3 separate regions of the Homo sapiens genome follow, and all the other regions are linked to region 1. Evidence: promoter capture Hi-C in 16 types of primary human blood cells and fetal thymus (Javierre and others, 2016). All regions are on one chromosome and are shown on one strand. Each heading gives the region's core, a stretch centred on a gene start or on the middle of the fragment in contact. The rest is flanking DNA. Distances are from core to core; before and after follow the strand shown.

Region 1 (4,180 bases), core at 1,247-3,746:
GAGAACGCAGCCTGGAGTTCTGGTAAAAAGCCCTAGAAGAGGAGAGGACTCCTGTGGACTGCAGGCTGCTTCCTGGCAGAAGTTTCCTCTCTTACCCTCAGTCTAAAGCCTTAGTTTCAATTCTGCCAGGCAAGGTGGGGAACTATAAGTCTTCTCTTCTGGAGCCCACGATGGAGCCTGCCAGGGAGACAAGTTATTCTTCTGTTCTGGACATCCAAGGGTGACTTTAAGGAGGATGCCTGGAGGACATGGGGAGAAGGTGAGAAGGGTTAAGCTGGCAGAAAGGGGAAGCCAAGCATCTGCAGCACTTAAGAGCAGGACGGTGCCAGGATGGTGCCTCCTGAACGGACCTCAGTAGTCTTGTGGGGGTGATCTGGGAAGGTTAGGAGTTCTGTTGGAAAGGTAAAGCAGGGTGTACAAGTCCTCTGCCCCCACCCCGGAAAGCCTCAGGGCAGCTGGAATGGCATTGAAGAGAGCAGGTGGCAATTTTGATGAGGAGCTGCTGACACGGCTGATCCTCTGGGCGCTGGGGCCGTGACATCAGGGTGAGAAGCTCTGTGTGGGAGCTCTAGGGAACGATAGTTGCCCGGATGTGGAGCCCTGCCAGGTATTCTTCCTGGTTTAGGCCAACGTGATCCAGCAAAGGCCAGGAGCTTGTAGAGGAGGAGCTGAGGCAGGGATGACACGTAGGACAATAAGCAAGAGCTGGCTGTCTTGGGAGGTGAAGAGCAGGAGCCAGTACCCTTCCTCAAGGAGATGGCTCTCCACCTAGACATGATTGGTGCCTGGTGTCTGCTCTATTCTTTCTTTGCAACTGGAAGGAAGGCAGATGACCCCCAAAGCTCTCCTGCCTGCTTCTGTGTGATATGTTTGATATTGGGTTGTTTAATTAGGAACCAACTAAATGTCAAACATATTCTTACAGCAGCAGGTGATTCAGCACCACCCTCTTTCATACTTCAATCTCTGGGGCTCCTGTCTCTTTTACTGAACCTCTTCTCTCCAGGACCCCCCCAAAAGTCCAGTAGCTGCAACCTATGTGCATTTCAATCTTAACCTAAGAGGGCTGGTGTGGGAATGGGAGAGAGTTGGAATTTGAGGATAGAATCTTTCTATTTCTTGTCCCCTTATACTAGAAGGGACATTTCTTTGCCTTTTCTTGTCCTCGTATTTTTCTCCCCCTTATTCACTTGCCCACCCCCCCCCCATTTTCCACTCCTTCCTCTCCCTGTTCCCTAACCCCTTTCCCTGGCTAATCTCCAGAGAAAGGAGACTTGGTTTCTCCTCTCTCTGTCGAGAGTCAGCTGATGGTCTATCTGCCTATCTACCTCTAGTGACTGGAAGCTCTCAATAGTGGACTCCAGCTCTGCTCTACCCACTGGCCTGGTGGGTGTCTCCGTTCCCCCATTGCTGGGGCTTAGCATTAACTCTCAGTATCCTGACATAAATGACTAACTAGAGCCATTTATATTTGTCCAATATATCTGGTCACCTTGAACAGTGCCCACCTCTCCCTTGGCATATTTTCAGGTGTATGGTGCCAGTGGACTGGTATCCTTGCCACCTGTTAGTAACAAGGCTCCCAATGGAAGAATAAACATGGTCTGGAACTAAACTGGAAAGAATAGAGCTGATAATGATGATTACGATGATGTGGTGAGTGGCAGCGTTGGGGAGAATTAAGAAGGGAGAAGATAAAGGGAAGAAGAGGAGAGAGCCACACAGACCAAAGTCTGTGTGGGTACAACAGTTCTATTTTAAGATTACTGTGGGAAAACAAAGGGTATGATCCTGTCTGGATTGTTCTGACCCTCCCCTGTTTCTCTCCCCACCCCACTTGAAGCTCTGGGATAGCCTTCAAGGATAGGGTTGGAGATTCCAACCCTACCTCTTACTCTACTCTTGTGGCTCTTGGTGGGGAGGAAAAACGTCTCCCTGCCAATCGGAGACTCCCAGAATAGCACAGCAATTTGATCTGGGGATCTGGGAGAATTGTTAAGGATCATGAGTGACCTCCCCTCTTCCCTGTGCCCAAGCTCCTTGAATACCAGGAATCAAAAGCTAAAACTCAACTAACGGAGTTTGACCAGCATTCAACACAGTCTGGGGGAGAGTGAAACGGGAAGCTGAAAGGCAACCAGGACCCCCTGGATGCAAACTGCCAACCTAGAATTGCCAAAGTACACTTCTCTATTTCAATGTTCTTCCCTCCCCTCTTCCTCTTCTTTTAAAACATCCATAGAGCTGCCCAGAATGAGTGGAAAGTTTCAGGGTCAGGGAGAACCTCTTCCCTCCCCCACTTTCCATTGTCTAAAATCAGCCTCAGCTGTTGCTAGATATTTTTTTTGCTGGTGATGTCAGTTCATCAAAGCGTCTCACCCTGTGTTCCCCCAGGAGAACAATGATGGGGTGGAGGGAGCTGGAAAGACCATATTAGGAACAAAAGGTGGAGCTATGAGCACAGATAAAGACTCAAGTCTGGGGACCTCCTGGTCACTCAGGCAGCAGCCCCTTCTTTCTTGCCCCAGTCTCCAGTTCTCCAGTGTTCACAGGTGAGCCTACCAACAGCCACTGCTCATGATGGAGGCCATCAAGAAAAAGATGCAGATGCTGAAGTTAGACAAGGAGAATGCTCTGGATCGGGCAGAGCAAGCTGAAGCTGAGCAGAAGCAGGCAGAAGAAAGAAGTAAACAGGTAGGCACTGGCATTGATCTCTCTCATCTGCTAGTGAACAAGACTGTGAAATGGAAGGGAGTTTTCATGGGAAAGACAGTGACTACTGGTGTCACCTCCTTTTTGGGGGTGGGATGGACTCCCCAGCCTCACTGGAGGAGCAGAGGATATCTAACATATCTGTCTCAGACTGCCTTTGTGACCTTGGGAAAGTCAGTGAGCCACAGTATGTCTGCTGAATTTAAGTAGAAATGGACCATGTTTTGGAAGAACCCTTGACTTCTAGAGGAAAAGGTAAGAGTTCTAGAGGGAAAGAGCATCTCTTTTCACTCAAATAGCATCACGGGCATCTACACTTTAGATATTTATCATCCAGGGGTCTTGGATGAAAACCCAGGATGGCTTGGTCATCTTAGGATCAGAGATTACAGGGTCACAGGCCAAGCTACGGCATAACTCCTGAGGCAGTGGGCTGGAAGTGGCTGGGGAGAAAGTGTGTCTCACTAGGGATGGTAACATGGAGGTTACACTCAGGGCTCCAAGAGCCCAGGGTCCAACCCTGCATTGTTGTGTTTGTGTGTTTTTGTGTGTGACTCTCTGGGCTCCTATAGCTGGAGGATGAGCTGGCAGCCATGCAGAAGAAGCTGAAAGGGACAGAGGATGAGCTGGACAAGTATTCTGAAGCTTTGAAGGATGCCCAGGAGAAGCTGGAACTGGCAGAGAAGAAGGCTGCTGATGTGAGTATTAGAGAGATGGAGGATGGGTTTAATCTACACATATAGATCTTTATGTTAATGTATGACGAAATTCCAAACACACTTGTGGGTTCATGGAACACAGACATATATACTCACATACATTTTTGCATATAACCACATGCTGGTATATTCTCATAATGGCATGTATTTTCTTTCTTAAAGACATCTCCAACATGTTAAAAGTTTTTTTTTAATACATGTAAAGGTCTCATTTATCTCCTATCACCAACCCAGGAATTTAATTATCTTTCCCAGGACCTGGACAAAGAGAGGGGACTCTAAGTTCAGAATGCTGTCACTTATCCTACCTCCTCCCCCATGCCACATTCTTAGCTTTTATGTCCAAGTCTTGGCATGTGGATATGTGTATTAATAGGGAACCTCTCATCTCTCAACTGTCCAACAAAACCAGCTCGGATTTCACAATGGGAAATGGAGGTCACACTGACCCTGGCCATATATGGGTTTATTTATCTTGGCCAATGCAGGCATTTGCCTTTATGCCATGGAGATGCCATATGAAGCATTGCTCCTAGGGCAGCAGAGAGATCCCTACAGTGACAGAGTATAATAGAAACTAAGAAAGAATCTTAGGGGGTAAAGGTATCACCACCAGACTTCACTCTATGACCGTGAGTAATTACTCAGCTTGTCTAGGGCTGAATTTTCCCATTCTCAAATAAAATAAATTCTCTTTTCCATCTCATATTATCCCATCATCATCACCTACTTTCCTTCATCTTTAACCT
Region 2 (4,180 bases), core at 875-3,374, 160 kb after region 1:
ATGATTTCACCACTGCACTCCAGCCTTGGCAACAGGACAAGACCCTGTCTCAAAAAAAAACCAAAAAAGGTTTCAACTTAAAGTGTGCTTGAGGTGATGCATACCCCACTTACCCTGATGTGATTATTACAGGTTCTATGCCTGTATCAAAGTATCTCATGTACCCCATAAATATGTATACCTACAACGTAGCCACAAAGATTAAAAATAAAAACAAAAAATTAACTGTAATCCCAGCACTTTGAGAGGCTGAGGTGGGCAGATCGCTTGAGGCCACGAGTTCAAGACCAGCCTGAGCAACATGGCGAAACCCCATGTCTACAAAAAAGACAAAAATTAGCTGAGTGTGGTGGTGTGCCCCTGTAGTCCCAGCTACTAGGGAGAGTGAGGTGGGAGGATCACTGGAGCCCGGGAGGTCGAGGCTGCAGTGAGCTGAGATTGTTCCACTGCACTCCAGGCTGAGTGAATTTTTAATTTTAATTTTTTCATAAGTTATTGGGGTACAGGTGGTATTTGGTTACATGAGTAAGCCCTTTAGTGGTGATTTGTGAGATTTTGGTGCACCCATCACCCAAGCAGTATACACTGCTCCCTATTTGTAGTCTTCTATCCCTCGCCCCCTCCCACCCTTTCCTGACTTTTTATTTTTAATTTAAAAAAAAATTTAATATTAAAAAAGTGAAAAAAAAAGGAAGGACACCATGTTTATTGATGAATATTTCTTAATCTATCCCTTCACTGTCTAGGTTTTTCTACAGCTCCCAGTAGAGCATAACTTTGCCATGGTTGTCCATACAAAAGCAGCAGGCAGGACCAGTATCAAGGTCACTGTTCACTGCATGAACAGTTCCTCTGGGCAGTTTGAGGGGAATTTGTTGGAACTCTCTGATGAAGTACAGATCCTGGTAAGCTTCCAAATCTAAATCTTATTTTCGTATATTAAGGATAAGAAAGTTATATTCTCTTACCATCAACAAAGAGCTTAGTCTGGATAGAGACAGATAATTGTTAGAGCGATTCCTGGAACAGGTTTGTACTTCCTAGATCTTTATAATTCCTGCTAATTGCTTGTATATAGTTTTGTTTTTTGTTTTTGTTTTGTTTTGTTTTGAGACGGAGTTTCGCTCTTGTTGCCAAGGCTGGAGTGCAATGGCACAATCTCGGCTCACCACAACCTCCATCTCCTGCGTTCAAGTAATTCTCCTGCCTCAGCCTCCCGAGTAGCATGTGCCACCAAGCCCAGCTAATTTTGTAATTTTAGTAGAGACGGGGTTTCTCCATGTTGGTCAGGCTGGTCTGAAACTCCTGACCTCAAGTGATCCTCCTGCCTCGGCCTCCCAAAGTGCTGGGATTACAGGCGTGAGCCACTGTGCCTGGCCTGTTTTTTGTTTTTTTGTGGTTTTTTTTTTTTTTTTTTTTTTTTTTGAGACAGTCTTGCTCTGTTGCCCAGGCTGGAGTGCAGTGGTGTGATCTTGGCTCACTGCAAGCTCCTCCTCCCAGGTTCACACCATTCTCCTGCCTCATTCTCCCAAGTAGCTGGGACTACAGGTGCCTGCCACCATGCCCGGCTAATTTTTTGTATTTTTAGTAGAGACAGGGTTTCACTGTGTTAGCCAGGATGGTCTCGATCTCCTGACCTCGTGATCTGCCCGCCTCAGCCTCCCAAAGTGCTGGGATTACAGGTGTGAGCCACCATGCCTGGCTTGTTTTTTGTTTTTGAGACAGAGTCTCACTCTGTCACCCAGGCTGGAGTGCAGTGGCACAATCTCCACTCACTGCAGCGTTCAGGTAATTCTCCCTGCCTCAGCCTCCCGAGTAGCTGGGATTACAGGCGTGCACCACCATGCCCGGCTAATTTTTGTATTTTTAGTAGAGACGGGGTTTCGCCACGTTGTCCAGGCTGGTCTCAAACTCCTAACCTCAAGTGATCCACCCGCCTTGGCCTCCCAAAGTGCTAGGATTACAGACGTGAGCTACCACGCCCGGCTGCTTTTATATACTATTAACATTAGAAACTATTAGTACTTGCAGGTGAGTAGTCTGGAAAAAAAAAGAAAAGAAACTGTAGCACACACACTCCCTTCAACTCCCCATATCAGGAACACAGGATATGAACACCATAGTAACTAGAGAGGGATTCATTTCTGATCCACTCCACCTGACATAGATATTATAAGTCCATTAACAATTTTTATTTAATTATTTATTTATTTTGAGACAGAGTTTCACTCTGTTGCTTAGGCTGGAGTGCAGTAGCATGATCTCGCCTCACTGCAACCTCCACCTCCCAAGTACAAGTGATTCTCCTGCCTCAGCCTCCTGAGTACCTGAGATTACAGGCATGCGCCACCATGCCTGGCTACTTTTTGTATTTTTAGTAGAGATGGAGTTTCGTTATGTTGACCAGGCTGGTCTCAAACTCCTAACCTCAGGTAATCTGCCCGTCTTGGTCTCCCAAAGTGCTGGGATTACAGGTATGAGCCACCGCGTCCAGCCGATATAAGTCCATTTAAATATATTCACAGTTAGGATAAAACATAATTCTAACTTTTGATAAGGTGTAAGAGTATGAATAGTTTCTACAGATATTCTTGGGCTAAAAGCTAAATGGCTCTGTTGTTTTTAGAATTCAAAAAACAAATTATCACTTATATGGGTCGAGTAAGTTTCACTGCCTCTGATTTTGAGACTTTTTTTTTCTTTTCCTGTTTTATTTTTTCCTTTATTTTGGCTTTGGTTCTCTGATTCCATGTGAAGTAGAGGAAGGAGCACTTTACTAGAAGGTGGAAGACCTGGATGTTATTTCATGCTAATTTAATATTATAAGTTCTTTTCCCCAAACTTCATGTCATTTTACCAGAGCCAAAATTAGAAATTTCAAAGTATTTTTATACCTAATATCTAAGCAATATGGAAGATGTGGTAAGTGTAAACTTTGCTACATGCTGAGTCCCTCAGAGTCAGAAACAGGGCTAACATTAGGTTATATCTTCTAGAATATCTAGTTACGTTTTGAGTGCCTGGTTCATTTTGGAGAGGAGTATTGTGGACGATTTTAGACTAATTAGAAGTTAGGCAGACTGTTGATTCGTAGTTGTCATTTATTTGCATGTAATCTCTTCGGGATTATACTGAAGTCTATATGTAAGTAAAAGTCATAATTTGTCTTTGCCAAAAATGAGGAAAACATTTTCTCATTATAGGTGTTTGAAAAACTCCAACTCTTCTATCCAGAGTGCCAACCAGAGCAGATTCTGATGCCTATAAATTCTCAGCTCAAACTCCATACCAACAGGTAAGGAAAAGGGAGAATAAGGAAGTGCCAGGATCTAAGCTTAAGTATTTTCAGTAAAACATTGACATAGAAAGAACACTTTTGCCTTCTAGGAGATTTTTCCCAAATAATTTTTTGTGTGAGGTGAAATTCCCATAATGTAAAACTATTGTAAAGTGTAAAATTCAGTGGCATTTAGTACATTCACAATATTGTGTATTCAGCATCTCTATCTAGTTCCAAATATTTTTATCACCACCAAAGGAGATCCCATACCTGTGAAGCAGTCACTCTTCTTTCTTTCCTCCTCGCAGCCCCTGGCAATCACTAATCTGCTTTCTGTGTACGGTATTAGCTATCCTGAATGTATTTCATATAAATGGAATCATACAGTATGCAACGTTTTGTGTTTTTTGTTTTTTTTTTTTTGTTTTTTTTTTTTTTTTGAGACAGTCTCGCTCTGTTGCCCAGGCCAGCGCACAGTGGCACAATCTCAGCTCACTGCAACCTCCACCTCCCAGGTTCAGGCAATTCTCCTGCCTCAGCCTCCTGAGTAGCTGGGATTACAGGTGCCTGCCACCACACCTGGCTAATTTTTGTATTTTTAGTAGAGATGGGGTTTCACCATGTTGGCCAGGCTGGTCTTGAACTCCTGACCTCAGGCGATCCTCCCGGCTCGGCCTCCCAAAGTGCTGGGATTATAGGTGTGAGCCACCACGCCCAGCCTTGTGTTGGCTTCTTTAAGTTAGCATAATGTTTTTGAGGTTCATCCATGTTGTAGCATGTATCAGTACTTCTTCCTTTTTATGACTGAATAGTATTCCATTATATGGAAATACCACATTTAGTTTATAATTTCATCTCCTAATAGAAATTTGGGGCTGGGCACAGTGGCTCATGCCTGTA
Region 3 (4,180 bases), core at 483-2,982, 160 kb before region 1:
AGACCCCCAACGGGAGGCCAGCGCAGTGCTGAAGACCTGTCTTGTGGGAGGGGTGGACTTGGGGCCTCACCAGCCTCAAGGGATTAAGGCTTCTTTCTGTGTTTCGGGGGTGGGGGCACTGAAGCCAGATGCCACTTGCTGCCCAAAGCTCAGGGTTCCAGACAGACCCCAAAGAAAGGCTTGTGTGGACTGGACAGCCTCTCCCTGGGTGGAGGTGGGTGTCAGGTGGTGTTCCTGGCGGTCTGTGGCGGGATTCCCGCCAGGGGCCGTTTCTCCTGAAGAGGGAAACAGATCTTATCTTCACATCTTCCCCCCATACACCCTCCGCTCCCCCACCCTTTTTTTTTTTTTTTTTAATACAGGCGGGGTCTCCCCATGTTGCCCAGGCTGGTCTTGAACTCCTGGGCTGGGCTCAAGTGATCCTCCTGCCTCAGCCTCGCAAAATGCTGGGATTACAGGCATTGAGCCACCACACCCAGTCTACGTTTTTGAGAAGGATTGTTCCATAACTGAAGACTGGCTGGGTCAGGGGGAAATTAGCCTGCGGGTGGGGCTGGATCATGCTGATATTGGCCATCGGCGGAGGAAGCTATACTTCTTTCTCCTCAGGCCAGCACTAACCCTGGCCCTGACTCCTAGGACCCCATCCTCATCCGCCCTCCCTTCCCTGGAGGAAAGCTCCCTTTAATATAAGACTTTAGCTTCCTTGATACTCACTTGAGAAGCCAGGAAGATGTGAGGCATGCGGAAAAGCGCAGAGTTAAAAAACAAAACCTTACAATATTTACCAGGTACTTTCCCTACACACACATCCATCTGGCGTGTGTTAGGGATGACAGGTTGGCCTGCGTTTGGAGAAAGGTAAACAGCTCAAGGTCCTAGGCACCCAGCCAAAGTCCATACGATATGCCGCTCAGTACCACCCACTGCCCCGTCTTCATCTTCAGCTGAAACTCAGATCCCGGGAGGTCTGCAAATGGATGAGGTGCTATCCCACACCAGTCAGATTCCAATTTGTCCAAGATATCCCAGATCTACCCACTCAATTACATTTAAGAGACAGTTTCTGTCTTTACTTTCACCACCAGTCTTGGTTAAACATCAGAAAAGAGACAAATTACACACTTCTCAGAAATTGAAATTTTATAAAAAGGCATTTTTCTCTTATATCCATAAAATGATATAATTTTTGCAAGTATAGAAATGTGTCATAAATTATAATGTTCCTTAATTACAGCTCAATGCAACTTGGTACTTTCTTCCCTCCCTAAAAAACGAGAGAGAACCAAAAAATAATATATATATATATAACTGTATATATATATTTATATAATATAGACAAACAAAATATGAAAAAAAATCATTTCCTCTTTGGTATAAAAATCAGACTCTCACCTTGAGAGACACACAGACAGACATGATACTGGGTTTGTAAACTGTGTGGCCAAAAGGGATTTCCCTGCCAAGACTTCCCCTCTCCCATTCCCTGCCCACCCGCCCCCACCTCACTGCAGCCCATCCAGTTCCTTTGGGGCTCCCATATGGAACATTTAAAATCCCCCTACCCACTCCCAGCTCCAAACCATTCCTGAAGAATCCCCCGACCCACTATCAAAGAAGAGGAAAGGATTCTTCTCAAGGCTGATTAGGTAGCGACTAACTTGGGAAATGCCTTATTTAGGGAATAGCTTCATAGGTGTGGATGAAGTAAAGGACAGGCTGTGGCCAAACTCTGACAGTGTCCCATCCAGACCAAGCCAGGCACTGGCCTGGGCCTGGTTTTGCCCTTATCCTCCTCTACTACCCGGCACAAGGATTCCACCACCTCTTGCCAGAGGCTGGGCCTGAGGGGCGGGGCTCCTTGCTTACTGAAGAAGGGAGCAGAGAGGCCAATTCCCGTTCCAGCCTCATCTCAGGTGCACAGCTTCCCCCTGCAGCCCCACCACAGGGCCCTGGGGTGTAGATGCAAGAAAGCACCAGATGGGGAGGCAAAGGGAGGTCAAAAGGGAGTCTGCCAATAAACTTGGGTTTAAATTTAAAATTAAAGAAAACTACGCCTCCCTGAGCTGGGTGTGGTGGCTCACGCCTGTAATCTCAGCACTTTGGGAGGTTGAGGTGGGCAGGTCAGGAGGTCAGGAATTCAAGACTAGCCTGGCCAACATGGTGAAACATCTCTACTAAAAATACAAAAATTAACCAAGCGTGGTGGTGTGTGCCTGTAATCCCAGCTACTCAGGAGGCTGAGGCAGGAGAATCGCTTGAACCCAGGAGGTGGAGGTTGCAGTGAGCTGAGATTGTGCCATTGCACTCTTGCCTAGGTGACAAGAGTGAGACTCCATCTCAAAAAAAAAAAGAAAAAAAGAAAAAGAAAAAAGAAAAGAAAACTACCCCTCCCCACTGACCAAATTTCAGACCCAGCTTTAGCTCACTAAGGATTTGGGGGCCACTTTCCTAGGCTCCAGCCCAAGGCCAGCAGGACTAAGGAATCCAGGAATTGATATGTGTGTGTGTTGGGGGCAGAGGGCAGCACTTTACTCTCAAGGTGAGGAAGCAGACAGGACCAAACCCTCCTTTACACTCTCCCACTACCCTCTGCTCATGGGTACCTCCCTCCCTGGTCAGCTCCTCTGCCCCACAGAGCACTGGTCACTGCAGGCAGAGCCGACATGGATCCTCCCAAACCACCCCACAGCCGGCCAGGCTGCGGCATCCCAGTGTGTGCCAGCCTCCTTTTCCCAGGAGAGTTAAGACACCAACCACAACATAAAAGTCACATAAAAGCCTCCTCCACTTGCCAAATAAAAAAAGACAAAACCAAACTGGACACAACACAAATCAAGGAGAGACATACACGATGTGAGGGGCCGAGGCCCCTGCAGGTCTCTGGCTTCCCGGCATGGTACATTCTTATGTAATTCAGGAACAGAGGCACTAGGGCCCCTCTGGGGAGTAGGAGTAAAAAAATAAGGAGATTATAGTCTCCCTGTGGGTCCCAGGCAGGGCAGGGGCAGACACAATCTCTCACAGTTTTTTCTTGTTTTTGGTTCCACTTCTGGTCCCCGAGTGGGGCTGGCTCCCCGTGCCTCAGCCTCTGCTCTGCCCTTGGGCCTGCTCCCTCTAGCTCCCCAGCTGGTGGAAGGGCCTACAGCTGGGAACAGATGTCCCAGCCATGTGTGGTGGGACCAGCAGGACAGAGTCTACCGGGGGGACGGGAAGCAAGGAATGAGGACCAGCAGTTCCGAGACGCTGTTCCCTCAGTGACTGGCCAGCCCTGGGTGCTCTGGTCACTGGCACAGGGCATCCATCCTCGGCCTTCAGCCCTTGAGGGGCTTGTCGGCACCGCCACTGGGGCTACTGGCACTGTCACTCTTCTTCCTGCGCAGGCTCTCAATCCAGCTGGAGCTGGAGCGGGTGGTGAAGCTGGAGAGCGCGAGAGAGCTCAGCCGCATGTTCTTGCCAGACATGATGAGCTCCCCGAAGCCCTCCTGATGGGAGAAGGCATAGCCGGAGCGCCGGGAGCCAGTGCGGCCAACCCGCCGCATGCAGCGGTGCTGGGCCTTCTGCTTCTTCCTCACGAGCTGTGTGTAGCGGACCTGCAGAGGGGCACAGGGAAGAGCCCTCTGTCAGCGTGGAGGTGTCAGATATCGCCAAGGAGAAGGGACCCACAGCACCCGGGACCAGGCTGACACAGAGGCCTCCGACCCACAGCACCTGGGACCAGGCTGACGCAGAGGCCTCTGTGGCCAGCTGCACAGGGTGTCTGTCCCCAGGAAGAACAGATAAGCACCAACACACTGAACAGCCACATGGCCCCACAGAGCCCCCCAGTGTTCACATGAGGCCTTTCCAGCCACCCCATCTCTGCCTCCCACAGCAGGTAGCCTGGCTTCTCACCGTGTCGGAGAGATCCGGCTTCAGGTTGAGCCTGAGGAATCGGAAGGCAACCACGGGCATGATGCAGACGACTGTGGTGAGCACAATGGTCAGCCACACCGTGGGCTGGGCCAAGGTGTTCTGGGCATTCCCTGGGGATGAAGAGGAGTCAGTGGCCTTGGGAGTCACGAGGCAGACATTCCCCGTTCCCATTTCTGGCAGCTCCACTTCCCTACTCTCAAAGCCTAAGTCACCTCTGGCTTCCCGCTTCTCCAGGCTCACCCTCCAAATGTAAATCTCCAAATTT

The links. The method cuts DNA at HindIII sites, captures the fragments that hold promoters and counts their contacts. A CHiCAGO score of 5 or more calls a contact.
Region 2: a contact is called between a fragment that was not itself captured here and the fragment with the promoter of TPM3 in region 1, in 1 of 17 cell types (M2 macrophages). The highest score is 5.2, in M2 macrophages.
Region 3: a contact is called between a fragment that was not itself captured here and the fragment with the promoter of TPM3 in region 1, in 9 of 17 cell types (megakaryocytes, naive CD8 T cells, total CD8 T cells and 6 more). The highest score is 11.5, in megakaryocytes.

Annotation. Positions count from the first base shown.
Region 1 is chr1:154,190,416-154,194,595 of GRCh38, reverse strand. It overlaps TPM3 (tropomyosin 3), which reads left to right and starts at 2,496. Exons shown (of 10, transcript NM_152263.4): 1 at 2,496-2,694; 2 at 3,285-3,410. The coding sequence starts at 2,578. MIR190B (microRNA 190b) reads left to right here and starts at 853; the gene lies at 853-931. The HindIII fragment of the contact is 3,875 bases long and covers 1-3,359 here.
Region 2 is chr1:154,026,621-154,030,800 of GRCh38, reverse strand. It overlaps NUP210L (nucleoporin 210 like), which reads left to right. Exons shown (of 40, transcript NM_207308.3): 28 at 747-905; 29 at 3,204-3,295. Among named protein-coding and RNA genes, the nearest start is that of RPS27, 38 kb to the right of the region's middle. The HindIII fragment of the contact is 2,424 bases long and covers 913-3,336 here.
Region 3 is chr1:154,348,253-154,352,432 of GRCh38, reverse strand. ATP8B2 (ATPase phospholipid transporting 8B2) reads right to left here. Exons shown (of 28, transcript NM_001370597.1): 27 at 3,895-4,025; 28 at 1,129-3,593. The coding sequence ends at 3,315. Among named protein-coding and RNA genes, the nearest start is that of ATP8B2, 25 kb to the right of the region's middle. RefSeq lists enhancers at 2,135-3,118, 3,119-4,103. The HindIII fragment of the contact is 6,441 bases long and covers 1-4,180 here.